Linked DNA regions of Homo sapiens: all the other regions are linked to region 2. Evidence: promoter capture Hi-C in 16 types of primary human blood cells and fetal thymus (Javierre and others, 2016). All regions are on one chromosome and are shown on one strand. The core of a region is centred on a gene start or on the middle of the fragment in contact, and the rest is flanking DNA. Distances in the headings are between cores, read along the strand shown. Region 1 overlaps SKAP2 (src kinase associated phosphoprotein 2). Region 2 holds the start of NFE2L3 (NFE2 like bZIP transcription factor 3). Region 3 overlaps HOXA3 (homeobox A3).

What was found. Contacts are between HindIII fragments. The CHiCAGO score rates a contact against its expected background, and 5 or more counts as called.
Region 1: a contact is called between a fragment that was not itself captured here and the fragment with the promoter of NFE2L3 in region 2, in 2 of 17 cell types (M1 macrophages and naive CD8 T cells). The highest score is 5.7, in M1 macrophages.
Region 3: a contact is called between a fragment that was not itself captured here and the fragment with the promoter of NFE2L3 in region 2, in 1 of 17 cell types (fetal thymus). The highest score is 5.6, in fetal thymus.

Annotation. Positions count from the first base shown.
Region 1 is chr7:26,675,089-26,679,533 of GRCh38, reverse strand. The region is part of intron 11 of SKAP2 (src kinase associated phosphoprotein 2); the gene reads left to right. Among named protein-coding and RNA genes, the nearest start is that of LINC02860, 39 kb to the right of the region's middle. The HindIII fragment of the contact is 4,779 bases long and covers 1-3,670 here.
Region 2 is chr7:26,150,716-26,155,422 of GRCh38, reverse strand. It overlaps NFE2L3 (NFE2 like bZIP transcription factor 3), which reads right to left and starts at 3,225. Exons shown (of 4, transcript NM_004289.7): 1 at 2,355-3,225. The coding sequence starts at 2,924. RefSeq lists enhancers at 2,137-2,326, 1,677-2,470, 2,471-3,265 and silencers at 2,447-2,516, 2,527-2,776, 2,887-2,956, 2,967-3,036, 3,057-3,436. The HindIII fragment of the contact is 3,470 bases long and covers 1,329-4,707 here.
Region 3 is chr7:27,125,462-27,130,347 of GRCh38, reverse strand. HOXA3 (homeobox A3) reads left to right here. Exons shown (of 6, transcript NM_153631.3): 3 at 3,278-3,462. HOXA4 (homeobox A4) reads left to right here. Exons shown (of 2, transcript NM_002141.5): 1 at 1-230; 2 at 777-1,823. The coding sequence ends at 1,123. It overlaps HOXA-AS2 (HOXA cluster antisense RNA 2), which reads right to left. Exons shown (of 4, transcript NR_122069.1): 4 at 1,588-2,148. Among named protein-coding and RNA genes, the nearest start is that of HOXA4, 2.9 kb to the left of the region's middle. The HindIII fragment of the contact is 300 bases long and covers 1,557-1,856 here.

The DNA.
Region 1 (4,445 bases), core at 32-2,531, 530 kb before region 2:
TGTATTTGTGCTTGCATTTGTTTGCTCCGATGACATTTAGTTTGTATGCTGTCAGTATGGATGTATGGTCTAGAGTACACTGGAAGCATTAACCAGGCCAACCTCCTATTTAGTACCCATCTCCTCCTAGGAGTGAAAAGCAGTTTATGGACACAACACCATGTCAGAAAATGTTCTAGTTCTACTCATAGGACTCCTCTTGTTATCTGTTTGTGAACAATATGCTTAAGTACTTCCCTACTTTCTCTTACATAAATTGGAGGAAACATTCCAGAAAAATGTTGGCAGATGAAAGCAAAAGGTGCTTATAGGAGGCAGGCTGGCAGCTGCAGCCCTTGCAATGGCCTGACAGGTAGAGGAAAAGCCAGAAGGCAGTGTCAGAGAGGCAAGGTGAGCAGAGGTGGCAGTGGAGGGGGCTGCTTTGGAAAGGAGCCCACCTGTAAGGCCTATGTGATTTACTTCAGCATGAATAACTAAGAGTTTGGCAGCAGCAAAACAAAACCTTAAAGAAAAGCACTACGTTGATATTTTTTTTAATTCTCAGTTGAACAATTCATGATTTCAGCCTTGAAAATGAGGAACTCCCTCAGTGTGTATAGCATACTTTCACTCTTTTGAGATGTCTTCTTCCTCATCCCTTTAGAACATGGAGCTAGATATTCCAGGGAAATCATTAGGCATAGAGACTAGAGATAGACTACTGATTAAGAAAAGTTTTAGAGTCGATATTTAGTAAATTATAGATAAGTGACAGATGTTCATTGAGTATTCAGCTATCAAGGAACAACCAGCATGCCAGGTATTGTGGCTCACTCCTGTAATCCCAGCACTTTGGGAGGCCGAGGCAGGAGGATCACTTGAAGTCAGGAGTTCGAGACCAACCTGGCCAACATGGTGAAACCCCGTCTCTACTAAAAATAGAAAAATTACCTGGGCGTGGTGGTGCGCACCTGTAGTCCCAGCTACTTGGGAAGCTGAGGCAGGAGAATCACTTGAACCCGGGAAGTAGAGGTTGCAGTGAGCTGAGATTGTACCACTGCACTCCAGCCTGGTGACAGAGCATGACTCCATCTCAAAAAAAAAAAAAAAAAGAACAACCAGTTAAAATTGTAATAAAATGTTATATTCCTCAAATACTTGTTCTCTTTGGGAGAAGATAAGATTCTCTTTGGAAGAGCAGGGTGGAGACCTGCTCATAATAATCAGATTGCCTTATAGTGCGTCCCAAAGTACTCTGTTTTTTTGTTGTTGCCATAATACTTTGCTATACCAATTAGTGGGCAGGGAGTGGGGGAGGGAATGAAAAAGTGTTTATTGAGCATTTACAATGTCCTGTTCTAGGTACTTAATATGCTTTCACACATATAATTAATATAATAACCCTGTGAAGTAGATGATGTTATAATTTTACAGATTAGGAAACTGATGTGCAGTAAGGTTATTATGGAAATTATCTGAGGATACGCAGCTATTAAGTGCCTTCTCCAGGTATCAATACAGGTCTGACCCTAAAGCCTTTTCTCTTTCTACTTTGCTACGGTTAAGTGGGACTTGATTAGGACTTTAACTTTTCTTCTATATCAGAGGTTAATTGTAATTATCACATCCCAGTTCTAAACAACAGCGAACCATGTTATTGACAGTATCTTTTACATAATTAAATCTTGTATAGATGGTCAAAATTATTTCATTTTCTAATCAACAAATATTTGGTGAACACTCATGCAAAGTACTATTTTGAGCAGGATCCAGAAAAGCCACAAACTGTTATTCAAGGAGACTGCAATTAAGTCGAAGAGAAGACCAATGCATAAAATAGATAATAGCAATAAAACACAATGTAGGGTATCAGTGTTGTAGTCCTGGAGAATCCCAGAAGAAAGGGAAGTCAGTAAATACTGGAGTAAGTAAGTAATGAAAGATTCATAGGAAATGGAACTTGAACTGGAACTTTATGTATAAATGGAGTTTATTCATTTAACAAATATGAATGCTTATTTTCTGTGTCTATTACATATAAAACCTAGAAGAACGGCTGTGCTATGGAAAGGGGTGGATGGCTATATTGATGAAAGGGGAGCATAGAGCCAATAGACATCAGTCATTCAGGATCACTTCTTTTTTTTTTTTTTTTTTTTTATTGAGACAGAGTCTTGCTCTGTCACCCAGGCTGGGGTGCAGTGATGCAATTTCAGCTCACTGCAACCTCTGCCTCCCGGGTTCAAGCATTTCTCCTGCCTCAGCCTCCCAAGTAGCTGGGATTACAGGCTCCTGCCACCATGCCCGGCTAATTTTTTGTATTTTTAGTAGACATAGGGTTTCACCATGTTGGCCAGGCTGGTCTTGAACTCCTGACTTCAGGTGATCCTCCCGCCTCGGCCTCCCAAAGTGCTGGGATTACAGGCATGAGCCATCACTTCTCTTTCCTTACCTTGGAGAATGGTAGGCAGCCAGAGAAACCCTGTGAGAAACCAAATCAACCTGATGTTTCCAAGCTAGTTTTTCTACAGCAGCTTACACCACTTTTCCCTTATCTTCGCCTGTACCTTGTGTGTTAACCACACTCTCAACTACTTACTCTTCACTGAACACAGCACATTCTTTTATCTCTGCAGGCCTTCACGCCTGCCATGTATTGCTCCTTTCATTATTCCTTCTGGAGTCTCAGCCCAGCTGTCACTTTCTATGTAAAGTCTCTCAGATCCTGCTGTAGGATTAGTTGCTTCTCTTTTTACAAACTTTTTCCCTCTCTTACCTAACATTCAATATAATGATTACCTGTTTCTCTGGCTTTCTGTCTAAACTTTGAACTTCTTGAGGTAGACACTGTGTCTTAAATATTTTTGTATCCCAATATGTTAACAGTATGGCAGATAGATGTTTACTATGCTTTTACCAAAATACAGTTAACAACAGGAAATAATCCTGACTTCTTAAAAGAACTTAGAATGATAGGATCATAGAGTGAGGGGGACCTTAGTGCTAGCCCTTCACTTTATAGGTAAAGAAATCGAGGCTCAACATAATAAGGGAAAAAGAAATAAAAGCCCAAAGGAAAAATGGACCACTCCTACAGAGACCTCCAAAGACAATGGTGTTTCTGAGGTTGTACTTCCACCTTGGCCCTGAACTTCTTGGCAGCCAAACCAAAAAAGGGAGAGATGGGAGCTAGTAATTTCTTTTAATCATAAAGGAAGGATCTTGGCTTTTCCCAGCACTGGCTACTTAAATATTCTTACATGAATTTCTAGACTCTGCCCTGAATATCTGGCCTCAACAACTTTACATAAATAAGTGCATAAGTGGCAGGTATTGGCCTCAACAAAAACTTTTCATAGTAAATATAATAAAAGATTTTATAAAGGGAATTCTGTGAGGGTCCAAATGTATAATAATTAGACTTATTGATATATATTAAGTACCTAAGTGCACTATTGTAGAGTCTCAATGAAGAATATAAATATAAACAAAAAAGATAAGGAGCTGAAAAAACCAGGAGATTTTCCATTCTACCTGTCATACTATTTTTTGCCTTTGCAAAATTCTGTCTTAACTTCTTTCAGTGCTTACAAGTAAGTTAAACTGAATTCATTTTTTCCAAGAACTGGAATTAGTTGGTCCCTGTTCCAATGTGGACAAATACCTTCTTTCTGCACATGGGATTTAAGCTTTTTAGACAAGGCACATCCCATGTAGTACATTTGAAAACATGGTGGCAACAGCCTGCCACAGGTGGGAACAGCATGCTCCTTCAGATCGCCCACTCAGCTACATGTGAATGCTTCAGAACAAATGCTTGTTTCGTCACTACTACAATTCTTTAACTATGCCTAATATACACAAAAGAAAATACATTACTATTGGAAATTACATTTCTTAAGAAAATATTTAGGATAGTCAACTGGTGCATCATCCAAAATGAAGACTTAGTCTATTTAATCATCTAGTACCTACTTATGGAACATCTTTTATATCTCCTGCAGTGGGAGGCATACAGATTAAGTGTAAGTCCTTCCTCTGATCTTAATGAGTTTGTACTTTATTTTAGTTGAAGGAATAAAACTAATGTACGTAAAATCTACTGAGGAATAAATGCTTAGCTTGAAATGAGAGATATAAATATGGATTAGCTAATTCAGAGAAAAAATCATGACAGCTGAGTCAGGTCTTAGTCATTGGACAGGATTTGGCTGAGGGAGAGGAGATGTCTCTGGGAAGGAAGCACTACATACAGAGGTAGAATGAGTGTAGTGCGGCAGGTTGTATTGTGCCAGCTAGAACAGTGACAGGAAAAGGTTGCCAGCAGGGTGGGAACAAGCTAAAGTCTACAGTTAATGCAGTGGAGAGTTAGTGTAAGTTTTTGAGCAGCAGGGTAAACTGATGAAAAGAGTTCCCGGGAAGAACAGAGAGGCACCATTGATAATGCAGTAATCCAGGGCAAGGTG
Region 2 (4,707 bases), core at 1,976-4,475:
TCACCCAGGCTGGAGTTCAGTGGCACAATCTCGGCTCACTGCAACCTCCGCCGCCCAGATTCAAGTGATTCTCGTGCCTCAGCCTCCCGAGTAGCTGGGACTACGGGCATGTGTAATCACGCCCAAGTAATTTTTGTATTTTTAGTAAAGATGGGGTTCACCATGTTGCCCAGTCTGGTCTCGAACTCCTGACCTCAAGTGATCTGCCTGCCTCAGCCTCCCAAAGTGCTGGGATAACAGGTGTGAGCCACCGCACTCAGCCCTATTTTTCTTAAGTACAAATTGTATATAAGGGTGCCTGGCCAGTGCACCACACAAGGTTGATGTAAAAGGCAACAAAAGTGAACTGGCCGTGACAACTGTAAGGAGCTGGACAGCTGATTTTTGCCAGATTGAATGTAACCAGGTCATCCCAGCAGTGAACATGGTGCACACATGCCAGCCCAGCCAGGAAGGCACTGCCAGGAGAATGGTTCTCGGGGAACTTCACTCTCTCCCCTAGGAAAGCTGGATTCAGAGCCTCCACAGTGGTTTGGCTGGCCTAGGCTCAAAAAATGCCTCCAAGGCAGGCCTGCCAGTCTAGGCCACCCATGGTGGCTCATGCCTGTAAACCCAGCACTTTGGGAGGCTGAGATGGGATGGGTACTTGAGCCAAGGAGTTCGAGACCAGCCTAGGCAACATAGCGAGACCTGTCTCTACAAAAAATCAGCCAGTATGGTGGTGCACGCCAGTTCTCCTAGCTACCTGGGAGACTGAAGTGGAAGGATTGCTGGAGCCGGGGAGGTTGAGGCTGCAGTGAGTCGTCATTGCACCTTTGCACTCCAGCCTGGGCAACAGAGCAAGACCCTGTCTTTAAAACAAAACAAACAAAAAAACAGCCAAGGGAAGGCCACTTTGTCTCCCAGGTGATGCCGGGAGGGAAGTTTCCGAGGACTGAACAGCTTCCTCTCTTCTCCCTCCAGGTCCCTGTGCACTTTGCACACAGGTTGGCATTCGGGTGTGGGTGGCAGAGTGCCATCTGGTACAGCATCCAGCACTAGGTTTCAACTCTGTGTTACAGAACCAGGAATGGTGGTAGTGCACAAGTACTCACTTATTAGAGGGCAGAGCATTTAGGTGAGACAGACCCCATGGGGTCCAGATTGGATGAGTGAGTGGGGAAGAACCTCCCACAGTATATCCTGAACACAGAAGGATCCCTCCAAGACTCTCACTGGCCCCCACCCCATTGGTTCCGGTCCCCAGGAAGAGGAAGGGCTCAGATCAGCATAACAGTGAATCACCGAGCACTTCCACACAATGACCCCTCCAGGAGGGTGGAGAAGCTTGTCTGGCAACAGCCTACACAAACGGCAATTCTGAAGAGCAACAAACAAACCAGTTTAGCCCCAATTCCCATTTTGCATAAGAATGCGCCCCACAAAAACAACACCCGAAGAACATTAGTTGATCACCACTGGTTGATCGTTACCAGTTGCAAACACTAAAGTTTGAGCCAAGACAGAATTTTAAAAGTCCCCTGGAAGGAACTTTGGGTAAAGTGGTTTTGTGGAAACTGGTGTTAAAGTGTCATTAGACTGAACTCAAACGTTCCATGGGGAGCACCAGATGTTTCAAGCAACAGATCTTGGTAAACTTGGTTTCAGAAAGAAGTTAAGCCAGAGAAGGGTTTGGACCCATAAACCAAAGGGAACTTGTTAGTCACTAAGTGACTGCCAAGGTACCTGTTTTCGTTATGCTAATAAGAGGTTACACAAATTCCAGGAAGGAGGATTGCTAGGTGCAGGGGATGGTTAGGTCACAGGGGGACCGCCTGCCGGCTGGCCTCTGAATAGACCCTGACCATGGCTCCTTAATCCAGGGAAGCAGCAAAAACGAACAGCAATTGGGCTGAAAACAGGGCGAAGGTCCTTGCGTTAGGCCGGGAGAGTCGTTCTTAAAAACATGCATCCTCCCAGAGGTCACGGCCTCCTTCACATCGTCCAGGTCGGGCACGGGTCCCAGAGAACGACACCCCAGTGTACATGAGGTACTGAGCGAAGACAGTGGGCATTGCTTCTCCCCTCCCCATCCCCGAACTACTCTTGCCAGCCATCACACACAAGGAAAGGTATTCTCTATAACCAAACGGATGATTTCGTCCACTTCTTCCTTAAACACCTAAAAACCACAGCGACAGCACTAGTAGCCCTTCATTCGGAATCAGAGCAGCAGCATCTGCGAACCTGCAAAGACCAGGGGCTAAGGGTGCCAGGACACAGCGAGAGTGGCCCCTGCTCAGATCCGACACAAGCCTCGGGGGCTCCCGGCGGCGTAGACGCCGCACTTCGCTCGCTTCCCGCTCTGCACCTACCTCGCTCGCACATCCGCCAGCGTCCGGCACCTGAGCCGTCGGTTCCGCGGGTGCCTTCTCCTCTTCCCCGGCGTCCAAGGGGCCACTCCGAGCCGCTCGGGGGTCCCCGCCGCCCCCCTGCACAGCCTGGCTGCCGCCGTCCACGCTGGCGCCGGCTCCTCCGGTGGACGAGGCGGCGGCGGCGCCGAGCAGCCCGTGGGCCTCGTCCGCGCTCCCGGCAGCCACGCTGTGCACCAGCCATGCATCCACGCTGGTGCGAGGGACGAAGGGGACCCCGAGCGCGCGCACCTCCCGGAGCAGCTGGCCCTCGGGCGGCGCGGCAGGGTCCAGCTCCCGGCCCTTGGGGTGCAAGTGGCCCGCGCGCCCCCACCCTCCCGAGGCCGAGAAGGGGCTGAGCGCGTAGGCGGAGCTGGCCGGGCCGCCCAGGAACAGCAGCTCGTCCTGCAGCAGGGTGGGCGGCGGCAGCAGCAGGTAAAGATCTAGGTCTACGCGGAGCCCCGCCAAGCTCAGCAGGAGGGTGAGGTGCAGGAGGCCGCCGCCGGCCGACCACCACCGCTTCAGGTGCTTCATCGCCGCCGCGCGCCCGGGAACGCCCCTGCCGGCGCCCGCGGGTCCCGGCGCCCCAGCCGCCGGGGTGACACGTGCGGACCCCGCGCGCCGCCCGCACCTGCCTGGAACCCAGATAAGCGAAACAATGGACCGGGGCGCGTGGCGGCCGTCGCGGGTTCCCAGCACCGGGCACAAAGGCGTTCCCTCGGCAGCCGGCACCGTGCCTGGCACCGCCGGGGATCGGGAGAAGCGAAGAAGGAGCCACCTGAGCGCCGAGCCCGTTCGCCCAGCCGCCCGCAGCCCGGCGCGGTGGCCAAGCTCCGCCCCCGGCCGCGGGCGCAGCCGACAGGAACACGCCCCCTGCCGCCCGGGGCCCGCGCCCGTGGGAGGGGCCGCACGGGGCGGGGCTCCCCGAGCTCAAAGCCTCTTTATGTCCGGGGAACGCAAGGCTTTCTGGGAGCAGAAGTTGTTCTGGGCACCAAGTGGCCCCTTGCCACCCTGTGGCCGTGAGCTGGGCCATCCTTGCTGAAAGCCAAGGGCGGGAGTTGGGGTGGAGGGCTAGGTGGTGGGTAGCTGGGTGGGAAGGGACAGGATGTGTAGACTGGGCGGAGAGTGACTGGGCAGCTACGAGGGGCCTGGCAGCTTGCAACGGGCTTCCACCCCAACGTGAGGACACTTGGCGGGCAGAGTGGGCAAGAGTAACCTCTCTGTCTCAGTTCCGCTATCTGTAAAATGGGGATCATAGAGCCTGTCAAACAGGGATGTGTTGAGGTCAGATGAAATATTTCGTGTAAAGTTCGGAGTTTCACATATAAATTCCACCGTTGCCATTGGGATCAGTCATCCCACCACTCCGCACACCCCAGTCCCAGCCTCACAGACCCCTCTCTCTTCTCTGGGCGTGCTCTGCATAGTGCTAGACCTCCTCTCGGTATCCTTTGCTCCTTATCCGTTGTTTCCTTGAGGGTTGACAGCACCAGCTCTACAGTTACCCTGAGTGAGTTCAAGTCCCCCCTCCACTTGAGGGGCGACCTTGGACAAATCTCTCCTTTTCTCTGTGCCTCAGTTTTCTCACTGTAAAATGAGACTAATAATAGCACCTCCCCAGCAGACCTTTTGTGAGCCCCAAATGAGATAATGCATGTAAACCACCGACCACAGCACTGCATGGGTAGGAAGTGCTCCCTGCTACCCATTGTTTGTGTTACTCACCCTCAAGGCTTAGCTCCAAAGCTACATCCTCTGAATTTTCACCAGTTGGCATTAATCTCTCCCCCATCTGTTGCACCGTGATTTCTCCGTTTGCCAACATTGTAACAGTTGGCCCATTCAACTCTGTGTTGTAGATGAGAATCGGTCTGATTTGCCCATTGTAAATTCTTGAGGACAAGGAACCTGTTTGGTTCACCTTTGTCCATGCACAGTACCCAGCACTGGGCCTTGCAAGGGTAGGTTTTACTAACCTTAGCTCCCTTCCTTGGAAGAAAAGGGGACAGGAGGGGATGCCCAACTGAGAATGGGCAGTTGTGTAAAAAGTTGAGCAAGACTTGTTTTAAAAGGCCCCTCCCTCCACCTGGCTTTCTCATCTCTCTCCTGGGCTAGTGTAGTAAGAAGAGAAAAGAATGGGGACCAGGGGAGCAGAAACAGGGGAGCAGAGGAAAGTTGCTTCCTCTGTGTTAAGCCTTGGAAGATGGGTTGGGGTGGCAAAGAGGATGAAGAAAGGTGATTGCCAGGTTATCAAGACCCCGTTCACAGCATTTAGTCTTTGAACAGCGGATTTAGAGTCTCAGCTTAGTAAATGCTG
Region 3 (4,886 bases), core at 457-2,956, 980 kb before region 2:
CCTGCATGCGAGCCACGTCCTGCAGCCCCAGCTGCCGCCGCCCCTGCAGCCTCGCGCCGTGCCCCCAGCGGCCCCGCGGCGCTGCGAGGCGGCCCCCGCCACCCCAGGCGTCCCGGCAGGGGGCAGCGCCCCCGCGTGCCCGCTGCTCTTGGCCGACAAGAGCCCGCTGGGCCTGAAGGGCAAGGAGCCCGTGGTGTACCCCTGGATGAAGAAGATCCATGTCAGCGCCGGTACGTGGCGCCGCTTGGGAGGCGCGGGAGGTGGGCCGGGGCTGGGCCTGGGTTCGAGGGTCGGGGTCAGGAGGGAGAGGCTCAGGGGAAGGGGGCCTCGGGAGGGGAGCCCCCATCTGACCCGGGCTGCGGTGAGATGTGGGTATGTGCGCGCCAGCCAGCCGCCTGATCCCAACATGAGAACCCTTTTGTACCCAGGGTCCCTTTATCAGGAGATTTACGAGACGCCAAACTGTTAGGGCAGTAATTATAGCCCCCATAAATTTAATTGCCCTGGCAGAGGCTTCAGGCCATGTGTCTTTGAAGCTTTTCTTCAGCCCCAATGCCCAGCACCATTCTTTATGGCTCTCGGGTGTTTCCCGTTGTCAATAGCCTGTGAAACATTTTCTTTGCCGTTTTATGTATCTTGCGTGAACTTGGTGTCAGGTTATTATATAATGATGATGTCCAATTGCTCTTCCCCACCCCACCTTCTCTCTCCTCCTCCTTTCCCTCTCTTCCGCTCCCTCCTCCTTGGCCTTCTATTTCGGGGTTCTGGGTTTTCAGTTAACCCCAGTTATAACGGAGGGGAGCCTAAGCGCTCTCGAACCGCCTACACCCGGCAGCAGGTCTTGGAGCTGGAGAAGGAGTTCCACTTCAATCGATACCTGACCCGGCGGCGCCGCATCGAGATCGCCCACACGCTCTGTTTGTCTGAGCGCCAGGTCAAGATCTGGTTTCAGAACCGGAGGATGAAGTGGAAGAAAGACCACAAACTGCCCAACACCAAGATGCGATCCTCCAATTCGGCCTCGGCCTCTGCCGGCCCACCAGGGAAAGCACAAACTCAGAGCCCACACCTCCATCCCCACCCCCACCCGAGCACCTCCACACCCGTTCCCTCCTCCATATAATCTTCTAGAGATCTTAACCAGTTTCTATCCCTTACCTGCTTTTCTCTTCTCTTCTCCTGCTCCGTTCCTCATCCACCCCTCCCCATCTGGACCATAATAGACACCAAAACAAACCCAAATTGGTGAAAAGAATAATCAAAAAGAAGACATTATCCGGTTAAGAGTCTGTGCTGGTTGCCACCCAAGAGAGAACAGTTGTCCAGGATGCTGGCTGGTGGAACAACCTGCTGGCCCGAAACAAGGCTGCCAGGTGTGGATACCTGAGAAGGACTACTTGGTATCAAATACTTTTGAGATGGCTACAGTCAGCTAGCTGGACAGCCCATGCTGAGTGGGGACATACACTTGCATCTTTGTTGAAAGCAGAAGAAGACAGACCCTTTCCCCACCTTCCTTACCTCCTCTTCCCCCATTAAGGCAGCTCATCCAAGCTTGTATTTAACTGAATAAATGAGTAGACATTGTGGACCTCACAAGATTATTTAATTCTTAAGATGTGTAGACCTTGATGGTAGGTGTGACATGTTAGTTTTTCTTACTTGCATTTATTTAAGACACTGTTACAGAGATACTGTTGTCCCCTTCTGGGGCACGGTCTTTGGGGAGAGGGGAGTGCATTTAGACTTATGTGGAACTGTACAAATTGTGATGTGGCTACATAGAAAGCCATGTGCTAAGAATAAACTCCATTTAAAAAACATTAAAAATCTAAGATTCATGTGTTTTCTAAGCTTTTCATTAAGAAAACAAAAGTCCTCTGGATTGAGATACTTGACCTTGCATGTAAAAACCTTGTAGATAGCTTGAGCTGGATTCACTTGGATTCTGACGGCTCACATAATTTGTGTGTGAGAGTGTGTGTATGTATGTTCAACTTGAGCTGAACTCTTGTCAAGCTTGGCCTACTGTGGAAAAGTTCCAAAGAGTAGGAAGGCTCTTGAGCTCTGAGAGGGCTCCTCTTCTTCCCAAACTTGGCCAGGCTTTCAGGCTTCAAGTCTCTGTAAGGCATAGAAACGTGTCCTTCCCTGCAATGAAAGTTGAAACCATGCAGTGCTGTGGGCCCAGGAGTTTCTGCAGCTGTTCTACACACTGAACTCTGAGCACACTTGGAAAGAAGTGGTCTCTTTGGTATTTGGTATTTGTTGCACCTTCACACTTAATCTGCCTGTTTCCCAGGAGATAAAAAATAGTTTGTGCAAAGGGTTGAGATTAGTTTTTGTTTCCTGGCTGTTCTTAAGGTCCTCTTCACTAACTACAGACTGGGAATTTTTGTTTGTTTGCTTGTTTGTTTCTCTTTTTTGAAGAAAGAGCTTTCAAATAAACTGAATTTTACAAGTACACTCTCCAATGTCTCTTCTGAGGAAAAAGCATAATATACCCCTAAAGTTCACCCCATGCAAAGTAGACCTGGGAGAGTTTACTGCTGGAAAATAGCCAAACTGGGTCACTTTCCTCAAATGCTTTGTGAATTTTCTGCTCGATTCCAGAGATCTAGATCCAAAAGGCTGAAAATCAAAACCCACTTCTCGATCTCTATAACCCTAGTATTTGTTTACTGATTTAGATTTGATGCTTACTGCAGGGAGTTCCCTACAATAAGACCACAAAAACCTGTGCACACTAGCCCCAGAATATTAGAACTGTCACCTGGCCTTGAAAAAGTGCAACTTTTAAGTAATGTAGTAATTTTAGCATAGATGGGAGTAAGTGCTCACCTGCCTCTGCAATATCAGAGAATTTTTAAACACATTTCTCTCATTAGTGGCAAAACCCTTTAGCCAGTGTCAGAGCTGGTACCCCTTTCACCCCTGCTGCCCTGTGTGTGATACAAACAAGGGTGATCCGTTCTATACCTACAAATCAGATTTGAGAGGAAAGTGATAGATACCAGTCTCTGAAGAGCCAAGAAAATTCGGGAGCAATCAAATACACACTTACCTTCCCAAATCAGGATAAACCTGGCATAAAGTGCATTTTATAAGGTGTGAACGGGTGCCAGGGATTTCTGGAGGCAATGCAACTGCTGCTGAAACTTATTAACCCTCCCCCTACTACACACACTTGTAAAACAAAATTAAATCACGCTGAAAATAGCAATTTTCCCAGGAATCATTAATCACCTCAAACAATAAATACTTCTTTGTAATTCAACAGCAATTCTGAAAGGCATTCTCTGGGAAAAGTCTGTGGAGGAGAGAGGGATCTTCTTGCAAATAATGTGGTCTCAGGCAAGGACACAGCATCTTGGCTGTCTGCTAAAAAAAAAAAATGCCTAGACTCTCAGTGGAAATTGAGTGTCAAGCTGCAAAATCTCAAATGGCAGACTATCATCATTTAAGGTAAATTCTTATATTTCTCCTTTGTGGGAAAAGAGGGGTATGGGAATATTCATTAGCTTCATGCTGCAGGCAGTTGTATGAGGATGAAAGGGGTGACTTTCTTTCACTTGCACTTATAAGTCCATCCAGAAAGGGAAGAGAGAGGATTGAGATCATTTTTCTGATATTCCAGGACAAGATGGCATTTTTGTCCCAACTGTATTGATTATTAAGGTATTGGTGAGTTTTACAAAACCCAGATTATAGAAAATGATCCAAATGATTGCCATTTCTTAAGTGTTGTTTTGCCTGCTTCAAATTGGCCTTTAAGGGAGCTTGTTATAAGAGATTAGAAAATCCCACTTTGTGCTTCAAAATCATGCATTGTCTGCCCTTTGCTAGGGCAACCATAAGAGTTCACCGAGAGGACAAATTTTCTATCTCATTAATTGTTTTTTTTTTTTAAGCAAACCCTACTGGCCCCTCAAATCCTTGACCTTTAAAGACAGTATTTTGTGTAAGCTCTATAATTTTACCAAAATGAGCCTTACACATACTCTCCTTTTCTCTCTTTCTCCCTCCCTCCAATACACACTCATCTGCTTTAGTCACAGAGCCAAGTTGTGCATGACTCCGGAGACAAAAGTTTTGTCAACATCTGAAATCGACCTAAATCGGATAGGAGACACTTTAATGGTCACAGTTTGAATTAAGTACTTAACACTCTCCCCCTTGAAGAAAAATGGCACTTTGCAGGCTTCCTTCCCTAGTTTTGCTGAAATCTATGATATACCCGGTGTTTTATTACAGCAGGAATTCAACTGTGACAGGCATAGTAGAGTACTTAATACCCAGGATGGAGCCATGGGAAGATTACCTAGATAGATGGGGGAGGAGGGAAGTCCCTTCGCATAGCATCTCTGACTTCATACCCAGTTGTCCCAGCGGGCCCCATTCCCCTATATCTCAGCCTCCTCCCTATGGGGTGGGGTGGGGTGGATATCACCATCTTTCCTCTGTCCCCCTGTTCCCCTAAGCTTCCAAACTCTGCTCTCCTCACTGTTGCCTTCCCTCTAGCAGTTCCCACATAGAAACAGATCAATGACTCTTTAGAATGAAAGAGAAGAAAAACCCAAAGAATCAATGTAGCAAAAAAGCCTGGGGCTTCCCCTCTGAATGAGTGGGTTCTGTGCAGGCAGTAGGCTGCCCTTGGCACTCCCCTGGTCTCTGCATCCCTAAACACAGTCTTGTATAGCAGAACACAGGCTCACCTTTCTCAACTGCTGCTGTGTTGCCCCTTCCCTATATTATACACTGTCCCAAGAATAATTCTGCTTCGTGTTCCAAAGAAACACATGGGCTGGAAACAATAGGAGGAAGAGACGTGTGTTCTGTTCCCTTGATGGTATGAGGGAGGCTGCTGTGGCTGTCTTGAAACCCTCTAG